Linked DNA regions of Homo sapiens: regions 1, 2, 3, 4, 5 and 7 are each linked to region 6. The links are contacts of gene promoters, found by promoter capture Hi-C in blood cells and fetal thymus (Javierre and others, 2016). All regions are on one chromosome and are shown on one strand. Each heading gives the region's core, a stretch centred on a gene start or on the middle of the fragment in contact. The rest is flanking DNA. Distances are from core to core; before and after follow the strand shown. Region 1 overlaps LOC101929710 (a long non-coding RNA gene). Region 2 overlaps LOC101929710 (a long non-coding RNA gene). Region 3 overlaps LOC101929710 (a long non-coding RNA gene). Region 4 has its middle 4.5 kb from the start of RFESD. Region 5 overlaps LOC101929710 (a long non-coding RNA gene). Region 6 holds the start of ELL2 (elongation factor for RNA polymerase II 2). Region 7 overlaps LOC101929710 (a long non-coding RNA gene).

Evidence for each region. The method cuts DNA at HindIII sites, captures the fragments that hold promoters and counts their contacts. A CHiCAGO score of 5 or more calls a contact.
Region 1: a contact is called between a fragment that was not itself captured here and the fragment with the promoter of ELL2 in region 6, in 5 of 17 cell types (endothelial precursors, erythroblasts, M1 macrophages and 2 more). The highest score is 11.6, in endothelial precursors.
Region 2: a fragment that was not itself captured here is called in contact with the fragment with the promoter of ELL2 in region 6 in 17 of 17 cell types (M2 macrophages, M1 macrophages, M0 macrophages and 14 more); the score reaches 31.5 in M2 macrophages.
Region 3: a contact is called between a fragment that was not itself captured here and the fragment with the promoter of ELL2 in region 6, in 5 of 17 cell types (M2 macrophages, endothelial precursors, M1 macrophages and 2 more). The highest score is 10.1, in M2 macrophages.
Region 4: a fragment that was not itself captured here is called in contact with the fragment with the promoter of ELL2 in region 6 in 3 of 17 cell types (fetal thymus, naive B cells and non-activated CD4 T cells); the score reaches 6.4 in fetal thymus.
Region 5: a fragment that was not itself captured here is called in contact with the fragment with the promoter of ELL2 in region 6 in 1 of 17 cell types (total B cells); the score reaches 5.2 in total B cells.
Region 7: a contact is called between a fragment that was not itself captured here and the fragment with the promoter of ELL2 in region 6, in 6 of 17 cell types (M0 macrophages, M2 macrophages, M1 macrophages and 3 more). The highest score is 13.6, in M0 macrophages.

What each region holds. Positions count from the first base shown.
Region 1 is chr5:96,250,257-96,253,137 of GRCh38, forward strand. All of the region lies in intron 1 of LOC101929710 (a long non-coding RNA gene), which reads left to right. It also overlaps a transcript of CAST not described here. Among named protein-coding and RNA genes, the nearest start is that of MIR583, 170 kb to the left of the region's middle. The HindIII fragment of the contact is 1,596 bases long and covers 802-2,397 here.
Region 2 is chr5:96,340,458-96,343,420 of GRCh38, forward strand. All of the region lies in intron 3 of LOC101929710 (a long non-coding RNA gene), which reads left to right. All of the region lies in intron 1 of LOC107986365 (a long non-coding RNA gene), which reads left to right. It also overlaps a transcript of CAST not described here. Among named protein-coding and RNA genes, the nearest start is that of PCSK1, 91 kb to the right of the region's middle. The HindIII fragment of the contact is 2,031 bases long and covers 516-2,546 here.
Region 3 is chr5:96,273,526-96,276,225 of GRCh38, forward strand. All of the region lies in intron 1 of LOC101929710 (a long non-coding RNA gene), which reads left to right. It also overlaps a transcript of CAST not described here. Among named protein-coding and RNA genes, the nearest start is that of PCSK1, 160 kb to the right of the region's middle. The HindIII fragment of the contact is 3,261 bases long and covers 1-2,700 here.
Region 4 is chr5:95,640,943-95,643,680 of GRCh38, forward strand. No RefSeq gene overlaps it. Among named protein-coding and RNA genes, the nearest start is that of RFESD, 4.5 kb to the right of the region's middle. The HindIII fragment of the contact is 1,327 bases long and covers 668-1,994 here.
Region 5 is chr5:96,442,235-96,445,327 of GRCh38, forward strand. The region is part of intron 4 of LOC101929710 (a long non-coding RNA gene); the gene reads left to right. It also overlaps a transcript of CAST not described here and the pseudogene LOC102724070. Among named protein-coding and RNA genes, the nearest start is that of PCSK1, 11 kb to the left of the region's middle. The HindIII fragment of the contact is 7,284 bases long and covers 1-3,093 here.
Region 6 is chr5:95,960,353-95,963,437 of GRCh38, forward strand. It overlaps ELL2 (elongation factor for RNA polymerase II 2), which reads right to left and starts at 1,499. Exons shown (of 12, transcript NM_012081.6): 1 at 1,223-1,499. The coding sequence starts at 1,369. It overlaps LOC101929710 (a long non-coding RNA gene), which reads left to right and starts at 1,649. Exons shown (of 5, transcript NR_130776.1): 1 at 1,649-1,684. It also overlaps a transcript of CAST not described here. RefSeq lists silencers at 913-1,322, 1,393-1,632, 1,588-2,055 and an enhancer at 1,351-2,108. The HindIII fragment of the contact is 3,633 bases long and covers 1-2,745 here.
Region 7 is chr5:96,291,666-96,294,365 of GRCh38, forward strand. The region is part of intron 1 of LOC101929710 (a long non-coding RNA gene); the gene reads left to right. It also overlaps a transcript of CAST not described here. Among named protein-coding and RNA genes, the nearest start is that of PCSK1, 140 kb to the right of the region's middle. The HindIII fragment of the contact is 1,548 bases long and covers 493-2,040 here.

The DNA of each region.
Region 1 (2,881 bases), core at 350-2,849, 290 kb after region 6:
TCATTTTTCTCCCAGATAAAATAAATCCTGCATTAGACAAGCCAGAGCCAATGTGGTGACCCAGCAAATTCATCAGGGCCCCAGGACCTTCTAGGTTTCTTCTCTGTGTCATCCTGAAGATGCAATTCTTATCCTCAGGCTCTGAAGGTGACTGTTGTCACTCCAGTTGTTGTGTTCCCATTCTGTTCCCATTCCAGGCAGGAGAAATGATAAGGGCAAAAGGCAACAGGGTGCAGCCTCCTGAGTCTGCCTCCCTGTTAGGGAGCTCTTCTGGACACATTAATGACAACTCCTGCTTACTTCTTGTTGGTCAGAATTGCATCACATGCTCAATCCTAATGTAAGGAAAGCAAGGAATTATAGTTTTTAAGCAAGGTTTTCTTGCTATTGTGAATAAAAGCAGGATTCTACTAATAAGCTGAAAGGGCAGACTAGATATAAGGTAGGCAACAGCAGTCTGCATCAGGATGTCCTCTTTAAATATCCCCTTTGGAAATGCGGCTTCTCTACTTTAGCAATAGTCTAGATAGAAGAAAACCCTGAAGAGTAGAATAGGACTACATCTGTCTCTGGAAAGTTGACTTCTAGAAAAAGATGCTGATTAATTAAAATATCAGAGAAAAGGTACAGAGAAGGTACAGGGAAGCCCTTACTTGGGCAAAGCTTGTTCGTTCAATTCATGTACAAGGTACAGAAAAGGTACAGAGGTACAAAGGTACAGAAGGTACAGAGGTACAGAGATACAAAGGTACGAAGGTACAAAGGTACAGAAAAGGTACAGAGAAGCCCTTACTTGGGCAAAGCTTTGTTCATCCAACTCATGTAAGCTCAGAGCCAATAATCTTAATATTTACCAAGGGTCCTTACCTGATAAAAGTTGAAAGCATCCTTTTTCCTGGACTGCTTTCTGTTCTGCACTGTAAATCTACAAATCTGCAAATGTAGTAGGTCCATAAACCAGCTTCGGCTGGGCTGATTTCTTCATAAGGATGTGATTTACTAAAATGCCTATCAGTTAAGTGGCATAGTTGTAACATTTTAGGAAGGTGTAAGTCCATGTATAAAGTTCTTTATTAAACATGTATTTAGTGCCATTGATATTTTAAGAAATTATTCAAGTGTAGTATAGAGTCTCGCTGGGAAGCATAGCACCTACAAGTTGATCTAACCACTTTGCTGTTAACTTTTCTTTCTGCCCCAAAGATCGCAGATTTCACTGGAAGGATGAGATTCCTCCCTCCCCTACATAGCTATTTAGGAATAACTATAAGTAAAACCAAAGAAAATGCATGCTTGATCTACAAGGAGTTGTGGAAATTTGCACCTGGTCTCTGAAAGTGAAAAGAGATGAGATAAGAAAAGTAATTGGTATATCACAGACATCAACTAATGTACACACTCTGGCCACAGAGAAGCCCAGACCTAGCTAGTTCAAGTATAGTTGATAGCCAGATGTCAGTGATAAAAGCAATCAAGGGCCTTGTTGACTAAGTCTTATGAGTACAGGTAATGTAATTAGTAACTGACTTTTCCCCAAAAATCCTAGAGAAGAAACTCTAGTGGTTGATTCTCAGGGCTCAATAGTTAACGAATGGTCTCAGCACTAAGAATGCTGACAATTAACATCACCTACAAGGCCAAATTAAAGACTATACTTTTTCTATTATTTCTCAATCTTTACGTTCAGTTAGAATTGAAATCCTGTAAACTCATCTATCTGGTTTCCCAAAGGCTTGTCTTTCTGAAATAGACAAGAATGAAATGTAAGGCCACACTCTAGGAATAGGTAGATGAGTGCAAATTGTGTCTGACCTCTCCATACTCTTATTTAACTCTGGCAGAATTTTATCTGACAGTCACTGGAGACTTCTATTCAGCAGTTTCTCCACTGGCCTAAAGGAAGAAGTGGCAAAAATATGATCCAAAATACAATTACTGATTTCCTAAAGGCAATGGTAATTTTGGTGATGGAAAGGAAAAAGCCTAAGAATGCATTTTTACTATTACCTCCTAGTCATTACACTATGTTTTCTGTGAATTTCAATTACTATTGTTTATTCATTCATTCGCTCATCTTTTTAATGAATAGTATTCATTCAGTTAGTACCTACTATATGCTTGGCACTGAGCTAAATTCTGAGTGTGCAAAAATCTATGAGAAGTTGTTTCTGCCCTCACAAAACTTACGACTAAATGACTATTGATTAACTTACCTTTGCATTGTTTTTTGAAGTTCTTCAAGTGCCCAGAATTTATACCAAAATCTCAAGGGAGTTAGAGTAGGTATTAACAGTCCTATTTTAAAACTGAGGAAATTGACGCTCACAGAGTTTAAGCAACCCGTTTGGATTGCACAGAAAGCTGTTAGCAAAAAGAGTTCAATGTCAATTCTTGATAAGCTTCACATTTTAATGAATGAATTATTTATATATGAAGTTGTATTATAACAACATTAGGTGAAGTCTATTTTTAACCTCTTTCAGTAATGATAATGTTCTGACCTAGATTTCTAAAATACAGGAAGTTCATCCCGGTTGATTCATGCATTGCAGATCTGAACTATTGATAAAATGGGATGAAGAGAAATAGCAAGTGAGTTTGTTGGTTCCTTCGTGGACTAAAATTTAGTGGTAACAGAATGACTGGAGTCTGACAGTTAAGGTTTAATTCCTATCATTTGCCAGCTGTTACGGACTTGGTAAACACATATGGGCTATTAAGAAGTGTGTATTTCAAAACATCAAGTCATATTTAAAGGATTATTTAAGAAAATGGGATCATATCTCCTGTGTTCTAAAGAGGCCAGATACTTTTTTAAAAAAATAACCAAAAGTAGAGACATTTTAGTCTTCTTTATTTTAAACTTTCTTTTCACACCATT
Region 2 (2,963 bases), core at 281-2,780, 380 kb after region 6:
ATTCAGTGATCTTGGCTTTGAATCTTTGGAACTGTGGGTTTTTAGTAAGGATTGAATCAGCTTGTTGGCTCCTAATAGACTCTGAAATCCAGTAATATTCGTGATGTGTTTGTTCACTCCGTTGACTGCCAGGTCCCGGTAGGAGCAATGGCCAACAGAGAAGAATCGAGGTAAATCCTCCTTTGTTGCCTAAGAGCTGTTGTTGTTTACCCCAGTTTATAACCTCTTCACACTGAAGCATCACCCTTCAAAGGAGGATGTTGCTTCCCACTTTGATTATCATTTACTTGACTTTACAAGAAACTTTCACATCTTCCAAAACAGTAAGCTGTAAGATTTGCTCCAAGCTCTACGCAGTATATACTATGACTATTTTCCATTTAGAAATTAACTTACATTACAGCTGTAAGTCTATATACTGAACTTATGATGCTCGTTACTAAATGAATGATAATGGACATGAAATAGTCTGTAATTCATAGTCAAAATCTACCATTGCTATGTTTGTCTAAGGAAGCTTCAGTGAGTATACTTCAGATGCATATGAAGTTAGAAAAACAGTTAACAGAAATAGTTCAGTAGAGAAATCCTGATCCTAGGACTAATAAAACTAGATTTTCTTAAATCCAAATGCCTGTGAGATTCTATGCAGAAGGATAATTTGTATCCAGCATGTAAATAATCATGATTCTCAGAAGGAATTATTTGCACTTTAATTGCTCTTAGTAATGGAGAGTTGTGTCTTCTTATTTGTCCCCTTGTCATTAGAAAGTATCACTTACCATACATTTAATTCAAGTTTTCATCTTAAAAAATGTTACTCTAGAAATCTTGATCACAATCTCCTTTCATTCCTGCCCACTCCCATCCCCCCACCCTCCACCCCACCCCTCCACCCTGCTTGGTTTTGGTTTGTTGTTTTGTTTTTTACAAATCAGTGTATAACTCACTAAGGCTCAAGATACTATGTTTGAAACCTGAAAGCCAGCCTGAAGGTCAAATTCGAAATAACAATTTTCTTTTTGAATTTGAAGTCTCATTAGTGTAAGTGCCAGGATAACAACCCACAGTCTTCTTAATATAGTGGTTCCCATTTACATACTGTATCCTTAAACCACCTCTATTATCCCTTTCTGGGTGTTTTTCTTTCAAATGGTGCTTGTTTTACTTAAATAAACTTTCTTTAGATTAAACTTTCAGATAATGACTTCAAGTGGAAAACCAGTATCCTCTGTCATAATAAATGATATCCAGGAAGAGAAGTAATGGTAAAAACAATAAAATATTATTGAATTCTAGCTAGGAACATGAACCTACCACGGCACTGAGCCTAAATCTTTTTCTCCTTATGTTAAGTGTTAAAGATATGTTGAATACACTAAATGGAGACTTTCTCTAGACAGTATGATGAGTACAGGGAAGTTGAAAAGAACTTTCTCACAATATGATTTCGTGGATTTAATAGCTTCTCCCAACCAAAAATTACCTTTACCTTAGAAAAAAATTCCTTGATAAAATCAACTCAAATCCCCTAAGTTTAACAAGTGATGGTGGTAATGTACAGTCCTCAATGTGAGACCAAACTGAATCCAAGGCTGTATTCCCCAAGATTCTTCTTCCTCACTAATTCTCACTAATATAGAGTGGCTGCCGCCACCACCACCATGATGCCCTCCAGGTGTGCCCTCCTGGACATTCTGGCTCAAGCAAACACAGGCCTCCTTCCTTAATTCCTCTGAGGACACATGGGAAGAGCCTGGAAGTTTAAATATGACTTCATAGACAAATAGGATAATAAAAAGGAAATAAACAGAAAAACTTAACTCATCTGCTTTTTCATTGTTGGTTGGGGGTGTTTTTGAGGCAGTGGTTCCCCAACTTTTAGCACATATGGAAACCAGCTGGGGATTGTTAAAACAGAGTGCTGGGCCCACCCCCATATTTTCCAATGCAGCGGGGCTGGATTGGGGCCTGAGAATTTACATTTTGAACAAGTGCTCAGGTGAGGCTGGGGCTGCTGATCTGGAAGCCACTCTTGGAGAACCACTGTCCTTAGAAGACGCATTGCTGCCTGGCTTCTGCCTACCTGCCTTTAAGCCAGGTCCATATTTCAGGTCTATTTGGAGACTTGTCAAAGGACAGACCCTAATTATAAAATGGAAAGGCAGCTAGTCCCATACATAAGATTGAATTGAATTCTCTTTTTCTTGCAAGCTAGCATAGATTGGTTCTTCCCTCATAGCTAGCCGTATGACTCCTTCTCATTGAGATCACCCAGCCATATCTCCTCAATTCTTTATTTCCCACATTTGCACATCTCTGAAAATGGGATGTGTTTCACAATCATGCCACAAACGCCCTGAGCCTACGGGAATCCTGTTGTACTTGTTCATAGTATCATTGCTTCACTGAGTTATGTGCATTTTTGGTACCGCATAAGTTGATTCCATTGCCATTTAAAATGTCTTTAAAATTATGATACTGTAATTGAGCATTGAGACAAAAAGTTATTGTGTATGAAGAAAGGTGTGGGAATAGGGCAATGAAGCTTACATTTGGTATTGAAGGAAATATTTTGTTTCTAGAAGAATGATCACAATTTCATATTTTTAAAAAGAGCTATTAACAGTTTTATTTTAAAATAGCAACATGTACAATGCACTCATACATAGTTTGCAATTGTTAAAATGATGATGAAAATCTTTAACCTCACTAAAAAAAAACACATTTACAGATTTTAAAAATTCTTTTAGGGGGTACACAAGATAAAAATTTAAAGACCTCAGCTGTAGATTGCAATTTTCCAAATGGATCTCACAATACTGGCACCTAGCCAAAATAAATTCTTTAACCAAAGATAGGAAAATGAGAAAGTAGGACAACTTATTGATTTTTTAATAAAATGATGTTAAATGTTTTCAGTTTAAAGTTCTGTTCTATTTTCTGAAATTAAGGTGCTTGCT
Region 3 (2,700 bases), core at 166-2,665, 310 kb after region 6:
GACAAAGGTATATAGAAGTATTGGCTTTCCTTGTTGAAGAAAAAGGTTTTAGTTGGTTATATATTGCTGACTGAACCTTCTTATACTTTCAGGCATGTAAGATTTAAACTGATCCCATGCCTTTTCAAATTGCTTGCGTAGATATTTTTGTATGCAGAGAATATTTTAATGAAAATATCTAATTCAGGAACAGTTTTCTCAAAGCTGGAATTTCTTTACACTCTTTCATTTACTGGACAAGAGTAAACACAATGTAGATATCTCTTCACTGGTCTGTTCTGATTGCTCGAGTATCTCCTGGACTGGCCTTAGCAGTAAATAGATCAGTGAAGTACTGACAGGGCACCGAGGCTTGATCATATACCAACACATCCCTGTGCCTGTCATTCCTTAGAGCTTTAAAGGCTTTGCCGTTTTGGAGTTGCCTTTTAAAAATGCATATTCACCTGGGAGAGGACACACCTGAAATTTTTATTATTTGACATCTTAGCAAGAACTTGCCAAAAATAGACCCTGCTTGGGAAAAGGGAGATGGAAGGGATGGTGTGAGAGAAGAAATGAGTTAGAGCCCCAATTTTTTTTTTTTTTCTTTTTGAGACAGAGTCTTACTCTGACGCCTAGGTTGGAGTGCAGTGGCGTGATCTTGGCTCATTGCAAGCTCCGCCTCCCGGGTTCGTGCCATTCTCCTGCCTCAGCCTCCTGAGTAGCTGGGACTACAGGCGCCCACCACCATGCCTGGCTAATTTTTTGTATTTTTTAGTAGATACGGGGTTTCACTGTGTTAGCCAGGATGGTCTCAATCTCCTGACCTTGTAATCTGCCCACCCCGGCCTCCCAAAGTGCTGGGATTACAGGCACGAGCCACAGCTCCCAGCCTAGAGCCCCAATTTTATAGTCCAGTGTCAATTCTGTCCAAAATTTTACCAAAACCATGACTCCTGAAAGGTATGCATATATTTACTCCTTATTCTAAGAGCATCATAAATTTGAGGATGAAATGTATTTTGGAACAGACTTCAATAAATGTGTTCAATTCCAGTTTGTGTCACTATTAAAGTTGCCCTTAGGCCTCAAATAGATTTTGTGTGCGTGTCTACATTTTCACCCATTACATCCCAGAGATGACGGGTGCAACAATGAGAAGAGAGGAAGATAACTGATTAATTATTCTCTTTGTCGCTAGCCTATGCTTATTCTTCTGGTTGGTCAAACCGCTAGGCTCCCCTCTGACACTAAACAGCTCATGTTTCAAGAATATTTAAGAAAATTGTACAACTTTCTTTTTCATTCTGTCGTGGAAATGCCTGGCTCTAATGTTCTGGAGAAACTTGACACAAATAATAAACAAAAAAGAAGGGTCTACAGAAAAGATCACCTGATAAACCTCCAGATCTGCTTGCCTATGCCCTCTTCTCCTTCCAATCTGGAAATGCCTGAATTATACCTTCGTGGGCAGTGAACAATTTATACTTTGAGGAAGGGGAGATGAGGATCTGTTTGATATTTGCTGAAGTTAGTCAATTAACACGTTGAGGTGGTAGCAGATGCTATTCCCTGGAAGACATATTGACCTTTGATTTTTAAAGAAACCAGCCTTTAAAGTTTCAGATAATTGTGTCTGAGATAATTCACAGCTAGTCTGGGGCTCTTGCTTGTTTCGTTGACAGTAAGCCGTATTTGAACTCATCCCCAGATGTACAAAGTCTATTCATTGACTCAATAAGTCACTAATTTTCTTTAAAGTTTCATTAAAAGCAGAGACATTACTAAAGAGCTTGTATTAGTCACAATTTGATCAAGGTTCAGTTAGATATTTGAGGCAAGAATTGATAATATAACCAATGATGTCAAAAAAGGGAGGCTAATACAGCTATGTATTCTTCAATGTTCAGGTCCAACAGAAATTGAAAAATGTGACAGAGTTGTTGGAATGTCATCCAGTTGGCTGCTGTAACATGCTGTAGAAAGGATGGATATTAAATTATTGAAGATAATATGATAGTTTGTGTAAGCTCTCATGTTTTCCCTGTCTCCACCTCCTTTCCCTGTCCTCATATCTGCTATACCATTCTCTGCTCTCACCCCTTTCTTGTAAATAGCACATCTGCTCAAGATATAGAGTTTATTTTGAAGGACACAGGTAATTCAAAAGCTATTTATGTTCAGATATTACTTACCTAATTTACATAGCCCAGCAACAATCAAATACTAGCATGGCAGAATCTAAAATAGTTTGGTCCAGCTTATTAAGTTGTTATGATGCACATTACAGGCTCATTTGCTGTAATTAATTAGTGGAGAGAGGATAGAGCCTCCGCCTTAATTGCTTCTATCTAACAAATGTTTTCGAGGAGATTTCATTTATTGAGAAGAGCACAACTGAGAAGAATACCCGTGTTAAAAGCTCCTGTTGCTCTTCCTTCACTTTACATCCTTTTTCCAAAAGCTATTATTTAAAATACAAATTTTAATCTCTAAGTAGAAGCATATATTGTGATTCTTAGCCAGTGGTCTTCTTCGTGAAACTGATGTTTCCTAACCCACCATGTTTACATGCAGTGTTTTTCTCCCAGTGGTTGCTGGTAGATCTTTGTGCTTTAACTCTCAAATCCTTAGAGTGTTTCAACGATAGATTTGGGAGGAATGATAGGGCCTGATTTTCTCCCTCTCCTTGTCAAGCCACCAGCGCAGAATAAGATG
Region 4 (2,738 bases), core at 81-2,580, 320 kb before region 6:
TGGCTCACAGAGGAGTGTCAGAGCCCTAGTGGGATAGATGGCAACATGGTGTAGTGACATAGCACGGCCAGCTCAAGCCCAGTGGGAAGGGAATCAAGGGGCAGCCTACAGAGGCTCAAAGTCCAGTCTCTGTGATGTGCCTTCATTACCTGAATCTAATCAGGAGGAAACATCAGATGAACTCAAACTGAGGGATATTCTACAAAATGAATGGCCTGTAATCTTCAAAAATGCAAATATCATAAATGTTAAAGAAAGACTAAGGAGATATCTCAGACTGAAGAAAGCTAGAGACATGAAAACTAAACATACAATCTTGATTCTGAACTGAATTTGAGGATTAGATGGTAGTGTGTCAGTGTTAACTTCCTGATTTGGATGGTTGTATTGTGGTTATGTAGAAGAATGTCCAGATTTGGAGAAAATACATACTAAAGCATTAGGGACTGACGGGGCATCAGATTGGTACTATACTCTCAAATGGGCGTTTGGGAATAGAGTTTCCCTGTATTTTTCTGTATTTTTGTGTTTGTTACCAAATTATATATAATTATATATGTGAGGGGTAGGGGTGAGAGGGCGAGAGCATATGACCATGTGAACACATTACTAGTGTCCCTCAGGACCTCAGGATCTTGGAAGGCCCCATGCAAATATGGGAACCTGAAGCTTCAGTTTCATCAATATCACTACCTCTAACTGCAGCAAACCTGACTCTACCCACTACTGTCTGAAAGGCCAAAGTCCTTAAAGACATAATTTAGACCTTGTCTTAGTTATACCTGCTTTCTTAGGTCTTTGTGGCCTCCCTATCTCTGCTAACACTCAGTGTAGCAGAATGAATATGTTCTGAATGTTGTTGAAGGTCAAGGAGCAGCAGCTTGCACCCGAGGCCCACGTCACCTAAAGCTCTCTGGGGTTTGCCTTTGCTGGGCCCACATAGCTCTGTTGTGTGTATTTGCTAAGCCTGGCTTGGTACAAATGGCCAGTGTTTTGCTTCAGGCTCAATGTAGGTTCGGTGGTATTTGCTGATCAGACTCTCTTCTCCACACCCCCACTTACGTCAGCTGTGTATCATTTGCTTAATGCTCAGGACTTGGAGTCCCACCAGGAAGATAAAAATCAGCAGTGAACAAGAAGTGTTTCAGCTAGTCAAATCTCCAACCTTCACTCACTTCTCCTGGTATGCTCAGCTTAGCTCCTTTCTTCTTTCTACAGATTTGTGTACCTGTAGAGAGGGTACAATCTAGTCTGTCCGCTAGAGAGGACAGTTTTAAGAGAGTTTTGATACATAAGTTTAATTCAGGAGGCTGTTAGTCCCTTTGGCTGCATGTTTAAGCCACCCCAATTGAGACGTTCATAATTAAATAAAGCTCACACCTTGATCTCTTTCTGTGTCTCTCAACTGGTTCCAAACTCAGGCAGAAAATAAAAGAAAGGTGTTATTGGGCCCTCTCAAAGTCCAACACAAATAAAAGATGATGGTACCTTCAGGGTGGTGATAGCAGATAAGGTAAGAAGCGGTGTGATTTCAGATAAATTTTAGGAAGAATTGGCAGGACTCAGTGCTGGATTAGATATGGGGGGATATCAAGGGTCCCTAAGACCCCCTTCACATTTGGAGATTCACTAGATTCTGGGACTCATTACAGTTACGCTATTACAGAAACGTAGTAAGGATACACAGCTGGATTGTAAAGAAAAAGACTCAGGCAGAGCATGGAAGACTTCGTGTGCAGGATTCCTAAGTGTTCTCCCTTTCGCGAGGGGTCACACAGACTGCATTCTTCCTCCAGAAATGAAAATGTAGAAACATGCCTGCAATGTTTTTGCCAGGGAAAGACTGAGCCTCAGCAGCCAGAGTTTTTACTGGACATTGGTCACAGGCACCTCTGCCTAGCAGGTACCAAGTTCTAGAATCTCAGAAGGAAAAGCAAGTGCATTGTTTGTACAAATAGCTTACGCACAGGGAATCACTTTTATTATTTAGGGAAAGCTTTGTATGTGTAGGTGTAGGTGTCGGATAAACTCACCTGATAGTAATAATTTATGCATACCCTCAGAATGACCCCATATGGCAGATGCACCTGAATGTATGTTCTGAGCTAGGGAATCTGGGAGTAGCTAACCTGAAGAGTCATTCTTTATCTATGAGAAACATCTAATATAGGGGACTGAGGCCCTGAATTTTGGGATACATGAAGGTTGCCAGGTGGAGATTGTTAGGGGGAGGGTATAAAGTGAAAATACCATATAAACTGCATGATGGTTGCAGGCGGTTGCAGTTTTCCTGCCCATCCCACCACCACTGGACTCTGTAAGCACCTAATAAAACACCATGTTTTGTTTGCTGGCTCTAGGTCTCTTCTTCGGCCTCTTGAACCTGGTTCCTTTCCTACTGAGGTTAATAGGGCTTTGGCACGACAGTAAGGGACTGTTTACCTGCCAAGTTCTCACATGTCAGCGAAGGGCCAACCTTACAAGCAGACCTTTTTAAGGATAGCAGTCTCAGGTCAGCTATGCGAACTCCTTTCTCTACAGACGGGCAGGAAGGGGTGCGACAAGGAAAAGGGAAGAGTCAAGGAAGACATGCAGATTTCTCCCTTAAGCCTGAAGATGGACAGTGTTGTCACTTATAGAGATGGAGAAGACAAAGAAATGCAGATTTATGGGAGAGAACTAGTATTTCGATTTTGAACACAATGAAATTAGAGATAGCTATGAATTATCAGGTTAAA
Region 5 (3,093 bases), core at 178-2,677, 480 kb after region 6:
AATAGCTCCTGAATCTTCAGCTTCCTCATGAAACAGAGGAAATAATACTATTTATGAGATTTGAATGGACTAAATTATGTAAAGCACTGAGAACATTGCTTAGCCCATAGTAAGTACTCAATAAAATCTAGCTGTCATTATGATTGGTCTGTCTTCTGCCATTTTCTTTGCTTTGCATTGAAGAGAACTGTCCATGATTTTAGATTACACTCAGAAGCCCTATGTTTCTAGGTTTATGTTATCCTAAAATGTTATTACCATTTGTTGCTTTGGTAAGACTAGGAACTTGGAAACTACGTGAGTTAAATGGACAGTATCCCTGGCATTAATGCCCAACGTATTGTAGGACAATCATTTTCAGATGGTTTACTATGCATAATACTTACGTGGATTAAGTATCAAGGTAGTTTAAAGTGCAGCTTCCTAAGCATCGCTCCTCCCATTCTGATTCTGGAATGGCCTGAGGCCCAGGAATCTACAAACTTCTACAGGTACCCTTGGAGGTCGTAAGGAGCGCTGTGAAAAGCCTTAACTGGCATTGGCATTTACCCTACCACTGCTGCTGCTGTTGCTGCTGCTTCACTTTCTTTTTCTCCTCTTCTTCCTCCTGATCTACCTCCTGCTTCTTTTTCTCCACTTCCTCTTCTTCCTTCTTTATTATTGTCATCACCGTCATTCTCTTCATTCTCTTTGTCTTCCCCTCCATTTCTTCTCATTCTTTTCTTTTTTCTCCTTCTTCTTTTTGTAACCATTTCTAATAGACTACTGGAGGTTATTTTCCACTGTTAGGGTAGCTCTATTATTATCTCTTCAGAGAAAATGCCACTGAACTTGGGGGAAAAAAACAGAGTAATGACTCAATGAAAATATGTTTATACATAACTTCCCAGGAGCCAATTAGGAAGATAATCATTAGGTTCAGGTGATCCTTTGCTCATGCATACATCTGTAAGGCTCTGGCCCTCTCACCAAGAGTAAAATAGCCCATTCTTGTTTCCAGAGCTTATTAATGCTGGATTCAAATATAATGCCCTGAAAGTACATTTTAAAACCTTTCCTATGAAGATGCATAACTAGACGCAGGATCATTATTCTTACAATCCAATAAAATTTATGTATATCAATCTTTTGCTTCAAGCCAGCCAGGCACTCCAAGAACAATGTTAACAGTTTCTACATCCTGCCCCAACACCCAACCTATTACATCTAGATTCTGGGAACCTAGTCAAGAAAGCCACATGCCAATTTTGAAGCTACTTAAACTAATCAATTGTGATCACCAATTTGGATACTATATCTGTATAGCTTCAAAGAAAGTATATGTTTTGTAATCACCGAATTTAAAAAGTATAAATAGGCATTGAAGTAACTTTATCAGTGGTTATCGATTATTGCTGCACTTAGTATCTTGAAAACAACACTGATGCCCTGGCCCTAAGCCCACAGATTGTGATTTAATTGGTGTGGCATGGGTCACACCAGGTGATTCTATTGGGCATCATTGATATACATGAATCAAATTTATTTAACAATTGCCTACGCTCTATATCCTTCTGCAAGTCACGGACAGAGATTAACCCTAGAAGTAAAACGAAGCAGAGAATTTTAAGAATACTTTAGTCTCAACTACATGCATATTTTAGGGAAAGTGAAATATTAATCTAGCATTTCTTCTTAACTATCTCAATTCTCTATTTCATGTTGCTAGGGTATACTTGATCTTGTCAAAATTTTTCCAGCATCTAATAACACATAGAACCTCAAGGGCATTCCAAATGAATCACAGCAATATAAGAAATGAAGGAAAAAGCAAATTAAGTTTGGTCAACAATTTCTTTTGGTTGAATCAGAGGTGTCACAGAAGCAGCCACAGGGATTGAGAGTCCACCCCACCTTGCCCCTTATGGAGCTTGTAAAGACTAACTGGACTGACTCACATAAAGGGGCATTCTTTGCACTAGTCTGTGAGTCTAGGTTATGCCTTCACTTCTCATCAAAAATAGGGGCATTGAGATCATGACTTGCTAATAAGCCTCATGTAACAGATTTTTCACTGTATTGGTGATGGAAGTAAGACTCATTTAATTTAGTGTTTGAGAACTTGCTACCTGCCTTGATGTTCTGACACTTAAAGTTTTACTGTTTTCTATGTTTTGATGTTTAAAGAACTGTATAAATTGAATTATTCTCTCATTTTATCTCAAGCTGTACAATCTGCTGGTTTCTGTAATTTTAAATATCCTCTTTCCTTCAAATATTACCACCAAATCATTGTCTATAACAGATAAAAATTATTCTTTATCTTATTTACTTTTTTCTTTATGCCAAAATTTCTGAAAATTTTTTCTCAACTAGAATTATTTTCTCCATCATATTGTTAATTTCTAAAATATCAGTTTTATTTTATAAATGTTCCTTTTAATTTCTTCCTGTTCTTCTCTCATGGTTATAATATCTTCTCATGTCTGAGAATATTAATGCTAGGGGGTTTTATTTGTTTGCTTGTTTTGTTTTATTTATTTTTTTATTTTTTGCTTTTTTTCCTGCAAAAATAAGGTGACCACTATGGTGTTTTTTCCCCTATGGTTCAGTCCCTTTTCTCATGGTAAAGACATTCCTCCAATTTCCAGTTATCCATGTTGCTAGATCACAGTTGAGAGCGAGAAAAGAAAATCCGTAATCATTTAAATGGGAACTGGCAACTGTGAGTTTTGCTGCAGGATGGCCTGGCCAGATAGAAGAGTTGAGAAAACCTCAATGCCAGAGTCTTTAAGTCTTTCCTCTTGGGTTAGTTGGATTCCAGAGAGAAGACTCCCTGACCTGCAATCTTCAGCAAAAAGGGCCAGCCACCAGAGGAAAAGGACAAGAACCCTGAGGACTGCACTCACTGTGCCTCACTTAGTTCCGTGTTTCAGTGTGAAGCCTCCACACTTAACTGTGCCTGGTGTCTCTGGGGAAAACACCTTCAGTCTCTTTGCTGGGTGACAAAGGGATGGTTTTCTGGCAATAAAAAGTGATGAGAGAAGCTGGGGAAGATTGCTTCTGAGGTACACACACCATGGTGGTGTGTACCTGTGGTCCCAGCTACTACGC
Region 6 (3,085 bases), core at 249-2,748:
TGCATGTCCATAAACTGTTTCCCCATGCACCCTGGTTACCGCGTCCCTTCTCGGTGCTTCCCTGTCTCTCCCATTTTTTTTCCAACATGAAAGCGTCTGGATTTGTAGTCCAATTACAGTGTATGTGCGCCTATCTGAGCCTCTCTCTGTACTGGAGGGGTGTGTGTGTATATGTGTGTGTGTGTGTCCATGGGCTTCTCTCGAAAACGAGGGGTGAGAGGCCCGAGTCTCTGCCCGGGATGCATTGTATCCTCCCCACACCTTCTGGCTCTGGCTCGTTCCCCGTTTACACTTCCCAGAGTCAGCCCAAGACGCCGGGAGCTTTTTCGGGTACGTTGAGCGTCCGTGAACCTCTCTCTCCAGAACCCGATGTCTTGCTCCCGGGGAGCGCTAAGTGTGCGTGAGTCCTCAGGTCTCTCCCCAGGGCACTGTGTTGGTTTGTGTCCGTCCTGGACGCGGCGCGTCTCCAGTAACGCGATGCGCCGGTGTCCCGGAGTCCCTGGGAATGCAGGTGTGTCCCCTCCCCCCCCGTACGCGAAGCGCCAGTGTCCCCGCCGTTCCAGTGTGCGCCGCCCCCTTACACGGACTGCCTAAGTCCCTATCTCTATGAGTACACCGTGTGCCCCTCACCATGCGCCCGAGTCCCCATCCCTTCGAGCACACAGTGTGTCCCCTGATACGTGGAGCGCCTGTGTCCCCAAGTCCCTGGGAATACAAGGTCCCACCCCCACACGCGGAGCGCCTGTGTCCTGTCTCTGAGGATCCACCGTGCCTATGTAACTGGAAAACGCGGGCAGCTGGTGCCCGCGAGTCGTCCCTGGTTCCTTGCCCATACGCTGCTCGCTACCCTCCTTCCCCGCCGAGGGTAGCGTGGTCATCTCACTTCTCTTATCGGGGCCTCTCTCCCTCCTTGGGACCCAACAAGCCAGGAAATCCTCGGGGGCCGTCGGAAAGTCCCGCAGCGGCAGCGCAGCCGACCCAGGGCTGCGGCTGCCTCGGCCCCGCCGCCAGGGGCCGCCCGACTGCCCGCTTCCCCAACGCCCAGGCTAGCCCGGGACCGCGGCGTCAGCCACCCTGCCCGGCCCTGCCCTGCCTGGCCGCTGCGGGCGCTGACGGTAGCAGCTGCCAGCCACGGCTCCGCCGGCCCCGCACCCGGGCGCGGCCAGGCCGTGAGGGGTGCGCTCTGCCTCTCTGAGCCCAGCCTGCCGGCCGGCCCGCTCACCTTGTGGCTCTGGTAAGTCTCGAGCGCCCGGATCGCCGTCTCGGTGAGCTTCACATGCAGTACGGTGATGTTGTCCTGCCCCAGCCGTCCGCACGACAGCCCATAGCGCTGCTCCTCCCGCAGGCCCCCTGTCCCCCCCGCCGCCATCTTAAACTCCCCGGGGTGCCGCCGCCGCCGCCGCTCCGGCTCTAGCCTCCACTGCGGCCGCGGCTGCTTGGGCTTCTGCAGCCGCCGCCACTGCTAGGGCCATCCCGCTGCTGACGTACTGTCATATACTGCGCGGAGCCAGACCTCGGACTGCCACCGCCGCCACCCGCCCCACCCTCCGGCCCCGCGCCCCGCCCCGGGCTCGTCTCATTGGTCTTGTTCCCTTCAGAACCGCCCTCATCGGCCGCCCTCCACTCTCACGGGGGCGGGCCCAAAGTCACTAGAGTTTTGCTCCTGGGACGGGACGTCCGAGAGGTAAGAGGCTGACGTCTAGGTGACGCGCCAACTTAATCATGTCTGACGTCACGTCTGGTCGTCTTGGCTAGCCGGCCGAGATTGGCCAGGCTGGCTTGGGGACTCCCCTGCTAATTGGAAGTCCAGGTTGCCTGGTCTGGTTACCTGGAGTTGGAGCCCCGCCCCTGTGGGGGATAGTAGTGAAAAGTCAGAATTGGGGAATCTCGCCCTACGCGGGTGGTCCTTGGAGAGGAGGATCTCCACCTCCACTATGTAAGGGGATGGCCGTGACCAAATAAGGACTTTGTTCCCCGACGGCTGCGGAAGCTGTGGAACTTGGTGCGTGCGTGTGGGGGAGGACGCAGCAGGAGGACTCGCTAGAGAGCTGCTCCTCAAAACTCCTAGTACTGTAGTTGAGCAAACGGCATTGGGAGGAAACTGCTCACTCTAAACTTGAAGTTATCGGGTGCCACACGCAGAGCTTATAAAAACAAAAACAAAAACAAAAACCCTTGAAATTAGTGAGTCGACTCTTAGATGTAGGAGTTGTGTTAGATCTTGTGGAGCATCTTAAGGACAAAATCACGCGGGAGGTTAAATGCCTTTCGTATGGTGGGCATGGTATAATAGAGAATTGAGCTTCGAGGTCTTTCCTACGCCATGCCCTGTTGTGATTCTCTGGGATCACAACTGGTGGGGATGATATCTCCTTAAAAAGGACTCTAGAAGAAGAGTAAAACTGGCATTGATCTAAATTAAAAGAAACCTCGACAATTCTCATTCTCTAATTCAGTTTGAGTATTGTCCTTTTTATTTGATAGGGCTGTGTGAAAACCTAGCTAGGGTTTAAAGGTAAGAGGCTGTCGAGGTTAAGCGAAGGAGATGGGGGCGTGAGGGGCGTGCAAAGGCCTGGCATACTTTCCATTCCATCCACAGGATGCTTCCTGTGTAGGCGTGGCTAAAAGAGGGAGCCTAATCTGGAGTCCCTTTCAGATTGTGTGTGGATAGACTGACAGATGGGTTCCTGTCAGAGGATGGATTAATTGGTTGATCAGAAACACCAGATAAAACAAACCATTGAAAGCTTTCAAACTGTTGAAAGGCAGTTTAAAAAAGTTCTTTTAATAAAAAAACTGAGACGCTTGTTTTTACCCTCAGCTTATAAAACCATGTTCTGTTCTACTGGGATTCCCCGGGAAAGTTTATAGATATTTAATCAGTATTTTTCATTATTTTAAATGGATTAGGGCCATGATTCCATGTCCTCCCCTCCCAATAAATGCCTTCCCCACCGTACGGGTACACTCCTTTTTGATTCAGACCTTCAAACATAGTAGGTGTATAATGTGAATTACAGAATGAATTGGATTAAGTGGAAACACCTGTATTAAGTGTTACTCCATCACAGGAAAACAGTTTGTA
Region 7 (2,700 bases), core at 17-2,516, 330 kb after region 6:
TTGTGCCAAGCTCTGGGGAGAGGGGAGCATGGAAGACTTAGCTTTCTATAGTTTCTTCTGCTTAGGCTTATCACAGTTATGCTTTCTCTCCAGGAGTCATAGACCCATAGGATCCTCCCTGTAAGATCTTCCAAAGTCTCTGCTATTATGATCAATAGAAGACTGATTCCCAGTCTGCGTGTGTGTGTGTGTGTGTGTGTGTGTGTGTGTGTGTGTGTGTGGTGGGGAAGGTGTGCCGATGACAGATACAGAATCTTTCTTTCCTGTTTCTTCCAAATATTTTGTCTCTACTCTGGCTATTTTCTACTTAAGTTCTTAGGCATTTGAAAGCCAAACCTAGAACAATTCAGACTTTTGTGCTTTCTGCCTTTTTTCACCCTTCTCCTTAGGATTACTCTCTGTTTGAATGAGAAGGAAAGAGGCAAACACTGGAAGAAAAAAGACGCATATGTTAATATCTCAAAGATGATATCACTACAAACAGAGGCTTCAAGCTTTACCCTGATTTTGTCCTAAAATTATATGTGAATAGATGCTATCCAAAGGTCAGAGTAGGCATCAAGAATGAAATTTAAACAGAGCTTCGAGACTTCTGTAGATCCTAGGTATTTTGGAAAACCCGTAACATCCATCCTTAGGACTCCGTTTCCAATAAGAGCTTCTCAGTTGTATAACGTAAATATGTTTTAATGTCATAATAACTACTGAATTGTTTTAAACCTTTCACAAATGTAGACAAATTAGTTCTCAACGTTATCTGTTGAATGCACAGGCCACTGGTCTTATCACCTGGAGAGTTGTTAAAATTGCTGGTGCCCAAGCTCTACCCCCAACAAGCCCAATTCAGACTGAATTGCCTCTGTTTTATCTAAGGTTGTGACTTTGAGATTATTCCTTAAGACTTATTCACCTACTAAATAATGGGTTAATGTTCTCACAAGGTGATTATGTTGATTTTGGAATTAATACTAAAGTTAGGAGAATGGGATGATTATTAACTGGGAGAATTTTGTCTTTTAGTAGCTCATACAGTGCTAAATAATTTACAAAGTTCTATCAGATAATGAGACTGACGCGCTGCCCACTGCGTCACAAGGATGACCCAAACACTGTCACAGAATTAGAGTCAACACAGAGGAAGTGGAGTGAAGGGATAGGGAGCGACACTTAATTCTGATGACAGCAGCTATTCACTTAAAGCCTGTATACATGAAACAATAAATTCCCTTTTTGATTAAGCCAGCTGGAGTTTGGTTTTCTGACGTCTTCATTAAAGAGTCCCGACTGATATAGTTCTCCACAAATAGTTGTTGAATAAATGTTTGAATGGAAAATCAAAGTACGAATAGGGGTGGAGGAGTGCAAACAGCAGCCAACTCCTCCTAATATTCTTCTCTGGCCGGGATTCAACCCTGTCATGTTGCACAATTCCAGTGGCCTCCATTCACATGATCTAGAATATGAATGGTGCCAGCTCCTCCCCCAGAGGTGTACAAGGCAGCCCTGAGGGGAGGTTAGGGTGGAATGGCAGAAAATCTGTGGTTCTTAGTTCTTGAGCCTTTAGATCATGGAGTCCCATTTCCCAGAAGCAGAAAGGCTGGTCTCTAGATTTTGTTTGTTTGTTTGTTTTGAGACAGAGTTTCACTCTTTTTGCCCAGACTGGAGTGCAGTGGCACGATCTCAGCTCACTGCAACCTCCACCTTCCGTTTCAAGTGATTCTCCTGTCTCAGCCTCCCGAGTAGCTGGGATTACAGGCACCCACCACCACGCCCCGGCTAATTTTTGTATTTTTAGTAGAGATGGGCTTTACCATGTTTGTCAGGCTGGTCTTGAACTCCTGACCTTGTGATCTGCCTGCCTCAGCCTTCCAAAGTGCTGGGATTACAGGCATGAGCCACCGCGCCTGGCCTCTAGATTCTTTTGTGTTGTGAGTTCATTAATCTTTAGGGGTTCCTCTTTCTTCTCCTTCCAGAGAACTCTAGAAGCACTCAATTTGACTATACTAAGATAGTATTTAGAATATGTGTATTGTTTATAAAAGCTTAGGCCTCATCGTCATATAGTGATGCATAATATAAGTAAATGCCAGATTATTATTATTATTATTTTGAGACACAGTCTTGCTCTGTCGTCCAGGCTGGTGTGCAGTAGCCCAATCTCAGCTCACTGCAACCTCTGCCTCCTGGGTTTTAAGCAATTCTCTCTGCCTCAGCCTCCCGAGTAGCTGGGATTACAGGCACCCAACACCACGCCTGGCTAATTTTTGTATTTTTAGTAGAGATGGGGTTTCACCATGTTGGCCAGGCTGGTCTTGAACTCCTGACCTCAGGTGATCCACCAGCCTCAGTCTCCCAAAGTGCTGGGATTACAGGCATGAGCCACTGTGCCTGGCCCTGAATTATTTTTATTGTAAGTTTCATTCTATTCAAATATTTATTTTACTGAGTCAACTCATTTTTGACTCAATGTATTGCTATGTAAAATGTTCAACTAGCTAACAACTTAAAAAAATTAGATCATGTGCTATCTCTATGCATTGACTTGGGCTGTCTTTTCCTCTGCCTTTGTGTTTATTTCATTCCTATATATAACTCTTTTGGACTTAGAGTCACAATGGTTTGAAGAAAATATGTGGAAGAAAACTGACCTGTTGTTTTTATTTTTAAATTTGCAGTATGCTTCTTCAATGTAGCTCACCT